2 separate regions of the Homo sapiens genome follow, and region 1 is linked to region 2. Evidence: promoter capture Hi-C in human tissues and cell types (Jung and others, 2019). All regions are on one chromosome and are shown on one strand. The core of a region is centred on a gene start or on the middle of the fragment in contact, and the rest is flanking DNA. Distances in the headings are between cores, read along the strand shown.

The links. The method cuts DNA at HindIII sites, captures the fragments that hold promoters and counts their contacts. A contact is called where the count stands out against the background at its distance.
Region 1: a contact is called between the fragment with the promoter of TRIM28 here and a fragment that was not itself captured in region 2, in 1 of the 25 tissues and cell types used here (spleen).

What each region holds. Positions count from the first base shown.
Region 1 is chr19:58,542,772-58,547,439 of GRCh38, forward strand. TRIM28 (tripartite motif containing 28) reads left to right here and starts at 1,293. Exons shown (of 17, transcript NM_005762.3): 1 at 1,293-2,326; 2 at 2,654-2,766; 3 at 2,993-3,125; 4 at 4,605-4,668. The coding sequence starts at 1,987. It also overlaps the pseudogene RN7SL525P. RefSeq lists enhancers at 468-972, 1,124-1,433 and silencers at 1,554-1,763, 1,844-2,003, 2,024-2,313. The HindIII fragment of the contact is 31,195 bases long and covers 1-4,668 here.
Region 2 is chr19:58,312,676-58,317,094 of GRCh38, forward strand. ERVK3-1 (endogenous retrovirus group K3 member 1) reads left to right here. Exons shown (of 4, transcript NM_001396080.1): 4 at 2,073-4,137. The coding sequence ends at 2,108. It overlaps ZNF8-ERVK3-1 (ZNF8-ERVK3-1 readthrough (NMD candidate)), which reads left to right. Exons shown (of 7, transcript NR_144447.1): 7 at 2,073-2,982. It overlaps LOC105372480 (a long non-coding RNA gene), which reads right to left. Exons shown (of 3, transcript NR_144444.1): 3 at 2,275-2,361. Among named protein-coding and RNA genes, the nearest start is that of ERVK3-1, 9.5 kb to the left of the region's middle. The HindIII fragment of the contact is 5,451 bases long and covers 193-4,419 here.

The DNA of each region.
Region 1 (4,668 bases), core at 43-2,542, 230 kb after region 2:
CCCCACACAGACCCTGCTTCCCTCCTCAGACAGGGTTCCCCTCCGCACACACACCCTCTTTCCCTCAGACAGGATTTTCCCCACACAAACCCTACTTTCCACCTCAGACAGGATTCTCCCCACATGGACCTGCTTCCTTCCCTCCTTGGGATTCCCCACTGTTGAGGTTCAGTTTCCCCATCTGGAAAAGCATCAAAGTCAGGGTAGCTGCTGACGAAAACATGGGGAGGGGATGCCTTGGGGGGCTGGGTGGGATTTCACAGACTCATTGCTCTTTAGCCTCTTGTGATTTATATATATGTGTATATATATATATATATTTTTTTTCTTGATGGGGGGTTGGGGGGCCCGGCGTGGTGGCTCACACCTGTAATTCCAGCACTTTGGGAGGCCAAAGTGGGTCTATCATCTGACGTCGGGAGTTCGAGACCAGCCTGGCCAACGTGGTGAAACCCCGTCTCTATTAAAAATACAAAAATTAGCCAGGCGTGATGGCAGGCCCCTGTAATCCCAGCTACTCGGGAGGCTGAGGCAGAAGAATCGCTTGAACCCGGGAGGCGGAGGTTGCAGCGAGCCGAGATCGTGCCACTGCACTCCAGCCTGGGCAACAGAGCAAAACTCCGTCTCAAAACAAACACAAAAACCTTTCTCTCCTCTTTTGAGATGGAGTTTCACTCTTTTCTCCCAGGCTGTAGTGCAATGGCACGATCTCGGCTCACTGCAACCTCCGCCTCCCGGGTTCAAGCGATTCTCCTGCCTCAGCCTCCCGAGTAGCTGGGATTACAGGCGCCTGCCACCACGCCCGGCTACTTTTTGTACTTTTAGTAGAGACGGGGTTTCACCACGTTGGCCAGGCTGCTCTCGAACTCCTGACTTAAGATCCAACCGCCTCGACCTCCCAAAGTGCTGGAATTACAGGCGTGAGCCGCCGCGCCCGGCCACATTTTTCTCCATCTGTGGTCTAGGCTGGCGTGCAGTGGCACAATCCCGCCTCACTGCTGCCTCGGCCTCCTGGGCTAAACGGAGCTTCCCGACTCGCCTAAGAAAGTGGTGGGATTACAGGTATGAGCCACGGCGCCCGGCTGTGATCTACATTTGATTCAGTCAAGTTTCTGTGTTTCTCAAGTTTAACTATAGCGTGGTTAAAATCCAAAAGTCAGCACCCGAGCTCACACAGGAGCTTCCTCCCTCTTGGGATGGAGACTCTCCTCCCCTCTCCCTGGACACAGCCCTTCACTCGGTCTTGGCCCCGCCTACTTCTCCATCGGCCCTGCCCCCTATCCCGAACTCTTAGTGACGCAGAGGCTGGAGACGACTCTACGGCGGCGAAGAGACGCGGGTTGAGGAAGAGGGACGGATTGCCCATGCGCTTGGGCGCACAGCGGCCCGCTTCTGTGTGGTCTGGAGGTGGAGCTGAGAGGGGAATCACACTCTATAAAGGTTCGCATACCCCACTGGCGGATTCAATTGCGGCAGTGACGTCACAGAGGCCCCGCCCCGCCCCCACAAGAGCCCCACCGACGTGGGGTTGGCGGTGGTGGAAGGACTAGGAGTTGGCGCGTGCGTACTGGCGGCCTCTCCCGCACCGACCGGCCTGGGCCCCGCCCCCGGGCGTGAGGCGCCCAATGCGCGTGCGCGGCGGCGTCGGCGCCAGTTATTTCTGTCCCGCCCCCCGGCCTCGGCTCTTTCTGCGAGCGGGCGCGCGGGCGAGCGGTTGTGCTTGTGCTTGTGGCGCGTGGTGCGGGTTTCGGCGGCGGCTGAGGAAGAAGCGCGGGCGGCGCCTTCGGGAGGCGAGCAGGCAGCAGTTGGCCGTGCCGTAGCAGCGTCCCGCGCGCGGCGGGCAGCGGCCCAGGAGGCGCGTGGCGGCGCTCGGCCTCGCGGCGGCGGCGGCGGCAGCGGCCCAGCAGTTGGCGGCGAGCGCGTCTGCGCCTGCGCGGCGGGCCCCGCGCCCCTCCTCCCCCCCTGGGCGCCCCCGGCGGCGTGTGAATGGCGGCCTCCGCGGCGGCAGCCTCGGCAGCAGCGGCCTCGGCCGCCTCTGGCAGCCCGGGCCCGGGCGAGGGCTCCGCTGGCGGCGAAAAGCGCTCCACCGCCCCTTCGGCCGCAGCCTCGGCCTCTGCCTCAGCCGCGGCGTCGTCGCCCGCGGGGGGCGGCGCCGAGGCGCTGGAGCTGCTGGAGCACTGCGGCGTGTGCAGAGAGCGCCTGCGACCCGAGAGGGAGCCCCGCCTGCTGCCCTGTTTGCACTCGGCCTGTAGTGCCTGCTTAGGGCCCGCGGCCCCCGCCGCCGCCAACAGCTCGGGGGACGGCGGGGCGGCGGGCGACGGCACCGGTAAGTACGAAGTGATCGGTGCCACCCCTCCCCCTACTCTCTGCCTTTGATTCCGACTGGGTGCAGAGATGAGGATGCCACCTGGGCGAGAGGATGGGGGCCCGGACAGGGCACGGGAAATACTTTCTGGGTCCTGCATACGAACGTGGGTTTGTGCTGGCCGCTGAGATGGGACATCTGACTAAAGTTGGAGAAAAGAAGGCTCGGGGAGGGGAGGGGCTGGTTCGCTGCGGGATAATGGTCGGGGGCCCACCCAGCAGGGGAATGGTGGGGGCCATAACCTGGGTGGGAACTTGTAACAGTCTCCCACATCCCTGCTTCTCGAAGTGGTGGACTGTCCCGTGTGCAAGCAACAGTGCTTCTCCAAAGACATCGTGGAGAATTATTTCATGCGTGATAGTGGCAGCAAGGCTGCCACCGACGCCCAGGATGCGAACCAGGTGCGTCCTATCTCAGCAACCACAAGGAGGTTTCTGGGGAGGGGGCATCTGCGCAGGAGGAGCTTGGCACCAGCTCCAGGCTGTTACTCCACTTTCCCAAGGCTCTGGGTGGGCTGCCTAGGTTGGGTCAAGGGACCAATCTTAAATCTCCGGTTGTATTTTCTGGGATGTAAACGTGGATCTATCAAGTTGTCTTGCCTTCTCTGACCCTGCCTTTGTCTGGCAGTGCTGCACTAGCTGTGAGGATAATGCCCCAGCCACCAGCTACTGTGTGGAGTGCTCGGAGCCTCTGTGTGAGACCTGTGTAGAGGCGCACCAGCGGGTGAAGTACACCAAGGACCATACTGTGCGCTCTACTGGTACATGAGGCTGAGGGGGGCTGTTGGAGTTGTTCTCCCATGTGTGCCCTCAGTTGCTTTTATGATGTTGGTTGCATCTGGTGGATGGGTCCTAGAGTTCTCTAGGGGGTGCCGCCCGAAGGGCCCGAGGGCAGAACTCCAGAAGCAGAAAAACTGGGGTTGTGGTGTGTAGTCTCTAGGGCCTAGGTGGGAGAGGGTGGGAAGGGGAAATAAGGGAGACCTTAATGTGCTGCAGGGAGGTACAAAGGGTTTGAGAAGGCTTATCAGGGAGTTGTCAGACCTGGTGGTGAAGGGCTCAGCATATGCAAACAGGGAAAGGCATGGTGTGAAGGGCTTTCTGGGTTTGTGGTTCCCTGGCACACATCTGGTATAAGATGCTGCTAGGGAAAGTAGACTGTGGGTCCATGGATTATAAGTGATGATGATTTTTGGAAGTGTTTTAGCTTTTGAGTTGGCAGAGACTTACCCAAAGTTTGGTTTGGCATTTCCAGCTTTTCACAGACACAGCTAGCTTTGGTTTGGAAGGAGCTTGAGAGTCTTTTGAGTCTAGCCAAGTTTTGGGGCCAGAATCCTCCCATGAGTGGCCTTTTGGTAGCCATACTGTGATTCTTCCCATCCCAGAGGACAGCATTGGTGGAAGATAGCGGGAAGGTGGTGGCTGTGGGGCCTGAGCAGCCAGGAGGGATACGCAGGGGCTGCAGGGTGTCCTACATTCCAGACGTCCCAGGCAAAGGTCAGGGTGCAGGAATGAGTGGCATTGGGGAAGTCAGTTTCCCCAATGAGCCCTGATGCTACATATTTTGGATTTGGTTGGTATGTGGGACCAGTGTGTTTGATCAGTTTTCTAATGGGGAGACAGGCTTTGGAGGTTATTAATGGGTTGGTCTTTGGGTGGGATTATGCTGAGCACCAAGATTCTGCTCTAGAGGGGGTGTGACCACCATTCTGAGGGTCCTGGTTTGACATTTCATCTCTCCCAGTATGAGAACCTCTACAAGGTTTCCTCTGGGCCCTTGGATTGTAAGAGACCCTGGTGTTCTCTTGTCAGGGAAGAGGGAGGAAGTTAACCATGAAAGGAGAAGAAAAGGAATCCAGGGTGGTGTGTAGGCAGAATTCTGAGTATGTCCACTTGGAGAAGTGTTCAGTAAAGGGAACAGTGTGGGGAAGGGTCAGCGGGGGTGGGGGGTGGGGTGGGGTGGTCCTCTTTTTCTAGACGCTGTTATCCTTACCCTTACATTGTTGTTATCTCTAGAAGCTAGAAGAAAGGGATGTGTTTCTCAGCTATGTTGGGGCAGAGGATTCTGGGAGCAAGGAGTTGGGCTTGCAGGCCTGTGTTCTTCCCTGGCCACACCCTCTACATCTTCCCAATAAATGGCCCAGTGTCACAGAACAGGCCGGAAATGAGGCCCCAACTCATTCTGCTTCCTGAGTTGGGGGTGGTGAAGGGCAAGGTCCAGCCTTATGATTCCCACTCCCCAGGGCCAGCCAAGTCTCGGGATGGTGAACGTACTGTCTATTGCAACGTACACAAGCATGAACCCCT
Region 2 (4,419 bases), core at 1,668-4,167:
GTCACTCAACTGCAGCTGTCTTGCAGTCCAATCTCAGGCATGGTTAAGTCACCATGGAAAAATTATGTATTTATTAGGCCTCAGCTTTATTAATGTTACTGGCGTGTTCACCAATCACTCCTAGCCCCATCACTCAAATTGTATGGATTATATGGAATGGGCTCCCTTTGATATTTCTCACCCCCCTCCTTGGACCCAGTGTCTTGGCCCCTTGGCCAGACAACAGTCTATGTTAATGGGAAACATTGACTGGGGTCCCCGTGGCCATTTAGAGGGGAGAGATGAAAATCAGACCTCTTGGCACAAACTTCACTGGCACTGGTGGTGGACCTTCAACACCTCTTCATCACATCACACTGGGATTCAGTCCCCCAGTTGGCTGCACAACTTGCTTGGTATAGGACAGGCTTTAACCCGCCCTTACCTCAGTGACGTCATCTAGGAAACAGAGGCCCAATTCAGGAATCGATATGGAAGGCAACACTCCCATTTATGAATAACAGCATCTGGGTCAGAACATTATCCAACAATAGTAATATTACTCAACACAGTTTTAATATCACCTTTGTAAAAAATATTACCACTCAATTTACGGTTTGTGGGTTTTTTGTTGTTGTTGTTAACTGTTTGAGATGGAGTCTCACTCTGTCGCCCAGGCTGGAGTGCAGTGGCGCAATCTCGGGTCACTGCAACCTTTGCCTCCCGGGTTCAAGCAATTGTCTGCCTCAGCCTCCCGAGTAGCTGGGATTACAGGCACCCGCCACCGTGCCAGGCTATTTTTTGTTTTTTGTATTTTTAATAGAAACGGGATTTCACCTTCTTGGCCAGGCTGCTCTTGAATTCCTGACCTCGTGATCCACCCGCCTTGGCTTCCCAAAGTGCTGGGATTACAGGCGTGAGCCACCATGCCCGGCCAGTTTGTGTTTTTAATCCCTATGTTTTTCTAGCATCTAAGAAGGACCAACTCCACGTAAACATCACCCAGTTGACTTGTGACTCTTGTCAACTGTATCACTGCCTCAATCATAGCACAATACAAACACACAACATATCCACTCTAATAATTCTGGGTCGTATCCCTGGATTATGGATCCCTGTCAATTTGTGCAAACCTTGGGCTGCCACCCCTGCTTTACATTTTGTAAAACTCCTTCTTACCCAGCTCACTCATCGTGCACGTAAAGCCTTAAACATAGTAATTTTTACTGTAATCTCCTTAGTCACACTAATAACCTCGGTTGTAGTGTCCTCAGTAGCACTACATAGTTCTATTCAAACAGCCCAATATGTAGAAAATTGGACATGTACAGCCAACCAGGCATGGATGCTTCAAAATAAAATTAATACCGAATTACAAACAAAGGTAGCAATGTTAAAGGCTACTGTTCTGTGGCTGGGAAAGCAGGTACAAAGTTTGCAATTGTAGCAGCAATTGCACTGTCATTTCAATCATATTCATATTTGTGTGACCAATTTGGAATAGAACCAAAGTGAATATCCATGGAACCTTGTAAAAGCTCATTTGCAGGGAGCTTTTACATCCAATATTACTTTTGATATCAGTAACTTACAGAGTAAAATTCTTAACTTGAATAAGCAAACTCAAAAATAACAGCCCTTTTTAGAAGCTTAAACAGAATTCCAGCAGGGCTTAGAAAGCCTCAACCCTGGCCGGGTGCGGTGGCTCACGCCTATAATCCCAGCACTTTGGGAGGCCGAGGCAGGCAGATCACGAGGTCAGAAGATCGAGACCATCCTGGCTAAAACAGTGAAACCCCATCTCTACTAAAAATACAAAAAAATTAGCTGGGTGTGGTGGCGGGCACCTGTAGTCCCAGCTAATCAGGAGGCTGAGGTGGGAGAATGACGTGAACCCGGGAGGCAGAGCTTGCAGTGAGCCAAGATGGCGCCACTGCACTCCAGCCTGGGTGACAGAGCGAGACTCCATCTCAAAAAAAAAAAAAAAAAAAAAAAAGCCTCAACCCTTGGACCTACCTTAAACATAACTTCAATGTCTCTTTTATAATAATTACAAGAATAATGTTGTTATGTCTCTGTTTTTTTGCTCATAGTCTATAGGATCGGGTGAACCACCAACCGGCAATTGAAAGCTGCACAGCCTGAAATTACCTTTATTCAATTAATGCAAAAACAAAAGGGGAGATGTTGGAGGCCGAAGGAATGAGGGTCGTGACCAACTCAGTATACCACTGGAGGCTCTGTGAGCAAACAGCAAACTGTTCTCATGAAAGCAGGATGTTGGCGAACTGACAAACTCTGTCTGCCGCCAGAAGGAATGCTGGGGGCAGTCATGTCCCAGGTCCCGTGCTCCTTGAGGTTATCCACAGGAACATCCAGAACCTGTTGAACAAAGAAAGGAATCATGTGGGCCTGTGTTAAATCAAATAGCTGACCGACAGTTATCCCTTCCTCCCTATTCACTCTACCTAATAAATATGAAGGGCTGTAAAAGCTCAGGTCCCTGTTCCCTAATATCAAGGAGCCCCCTGACCCCTTCTTTCAAACAGATCCTTTTGTCTGTCTCATTTCTGCATTCGTCGTCCTTCGTTCGGTCCAGAAGCAACCGCGACAGTCCTGCATGTGTTGATGCCACCTGTATGTGCAGGTGTGACCTCAGGTGTGTGAGTATCCCTCATACCCCTTATCATCACTGCCTATTCGCTCTTCCTCCAGCCTCTGGCAACCACTAATCCACGTTATATGTCTAGATTTGCCTCTTCTGGACACTTCATATAAATGGAGTCATACAATATGTGGTTTCTTGTGTCTGGCTTTTTACCACTGAACGTTTTCAGAGTTCATCCATGTTGTAGCATGTATCAGTTTTTCATTCCTCTTTATGGCTGAATAATACTGCATTGTATGGATATACCACAGTTTGTTTACTCATTAGTTCATAGACATTGGGGTTGTTTCCAACTCTCTGATATTATAAATGCTACTGCTGTGAAAATTCATGTACAGGTGTTTGTGTGGATGTATATTTTTAATTTGGGAAGGGGAGGCCATGGGTGGGACCTAGGCTTGTGAAGAGCCTGGCCTGGGTGTATCTGTTTGTCCGAGGAGTGCCTGTATGCATGGCCATGACCACACCCACTCCTTGCTGCCTGTGCTCATTAGCCATACTTCATTTTCCAGAATCCCAGGCCTGGGCCCCTGAAGTCAAAGCCAGGAGCCTAGAGCCACACTGATGTGTAGGATCAAAGAGAAGGCGGCAGTGGCCCTGGAAACAAACCTGTCTCTGCAAGAGTCACTAGCAACCTGGGACCTCTGCCCAGGACTGAGACCTCGGGTGCCCCCTACCCTGTAGCTGCTGAGGCCAAGCAATGTGGAGACAGAGAGAGGGTGAGGTGATGGAGCCTGAGGTGCCGAGTGAGGTAGATGGTGGGGTGGCAGTCACAGTGGCACAGGAGGCAGGTACAGGGCTAGATGTTTTCAGAAACCAGATATCCCTCTAAAACACACCCTGCTTCTGCTGCCTTCATTCCACTGCCCTGCCTTCCTCAGCCTGCTCTACACCACTACCTCCTCATGGTTCTCCTGCCTCCCGTTGCCCCCTTCATCACTCTCCACTCAGCATTGGGTAGAGAGGGTCTTTTACCCCTGACTGATGAGGCCACCCCTCTCTTTAAACCCTCCATCACTGCCCAGGCCATCAGAGTATGGTTGGCAAACTCTTCTGTAAAACACAAGCAGCAGGCTGGGCGCAGTGGCTCATGCCTGTAATCCCAGCATTTTGGGAGGCTGAGGCAGGCCTGAGGTTGGGCCTATGAGACCAGCCTGGCCAACATGGTGAAACCCTGTCTCTACTAAAAATACAAAAAATTAGCTGGGCGTGGTGATGCATGCCTGTAATCCCAGCTACTCGGGAGGCTGAGGCAGGTGAATCGCTTGTTCCCAGGACATAGAGATTGTGGTGAGCCAAGATCGTGCCTTTGCACTCCAGCCTGGGCAACGAGCGAAACTCTGTCTCAAAAACCAAACAAAAAACACACAAGCAGCAAATGTCAGCTTTGTAGGCTCAGAGAGAAAACCAAGAATGTTACAAAGGTACCTATCTAACAAGAGAAAAACATGTCCATACATTTTATTAATAAAATCCAAAACTTTGTTAAATGTAATTCATTCCTTAATGAGCAAAAAGCTTTTCACAGGAGGTTCCATTTTATAGATAGGAAACAGACCCCAAGGGAGGTGAGCAGCCCAGAATTACAGCAGAGAGTGGTGAAGATTTGATCCTAGATCTGACAGCCTCTACCATCATACTTGCCATTCTCAGCTTAGGAATAAGATGGGGAGGAAGGTGTGGGTAATGGGCAAATCAGGGCCCAAATAGTCTGTTCAGTACTCTTGTCTCGTGGGAAGGAACAAAAGGCCCCACATCTGCCCTTCCTCCTG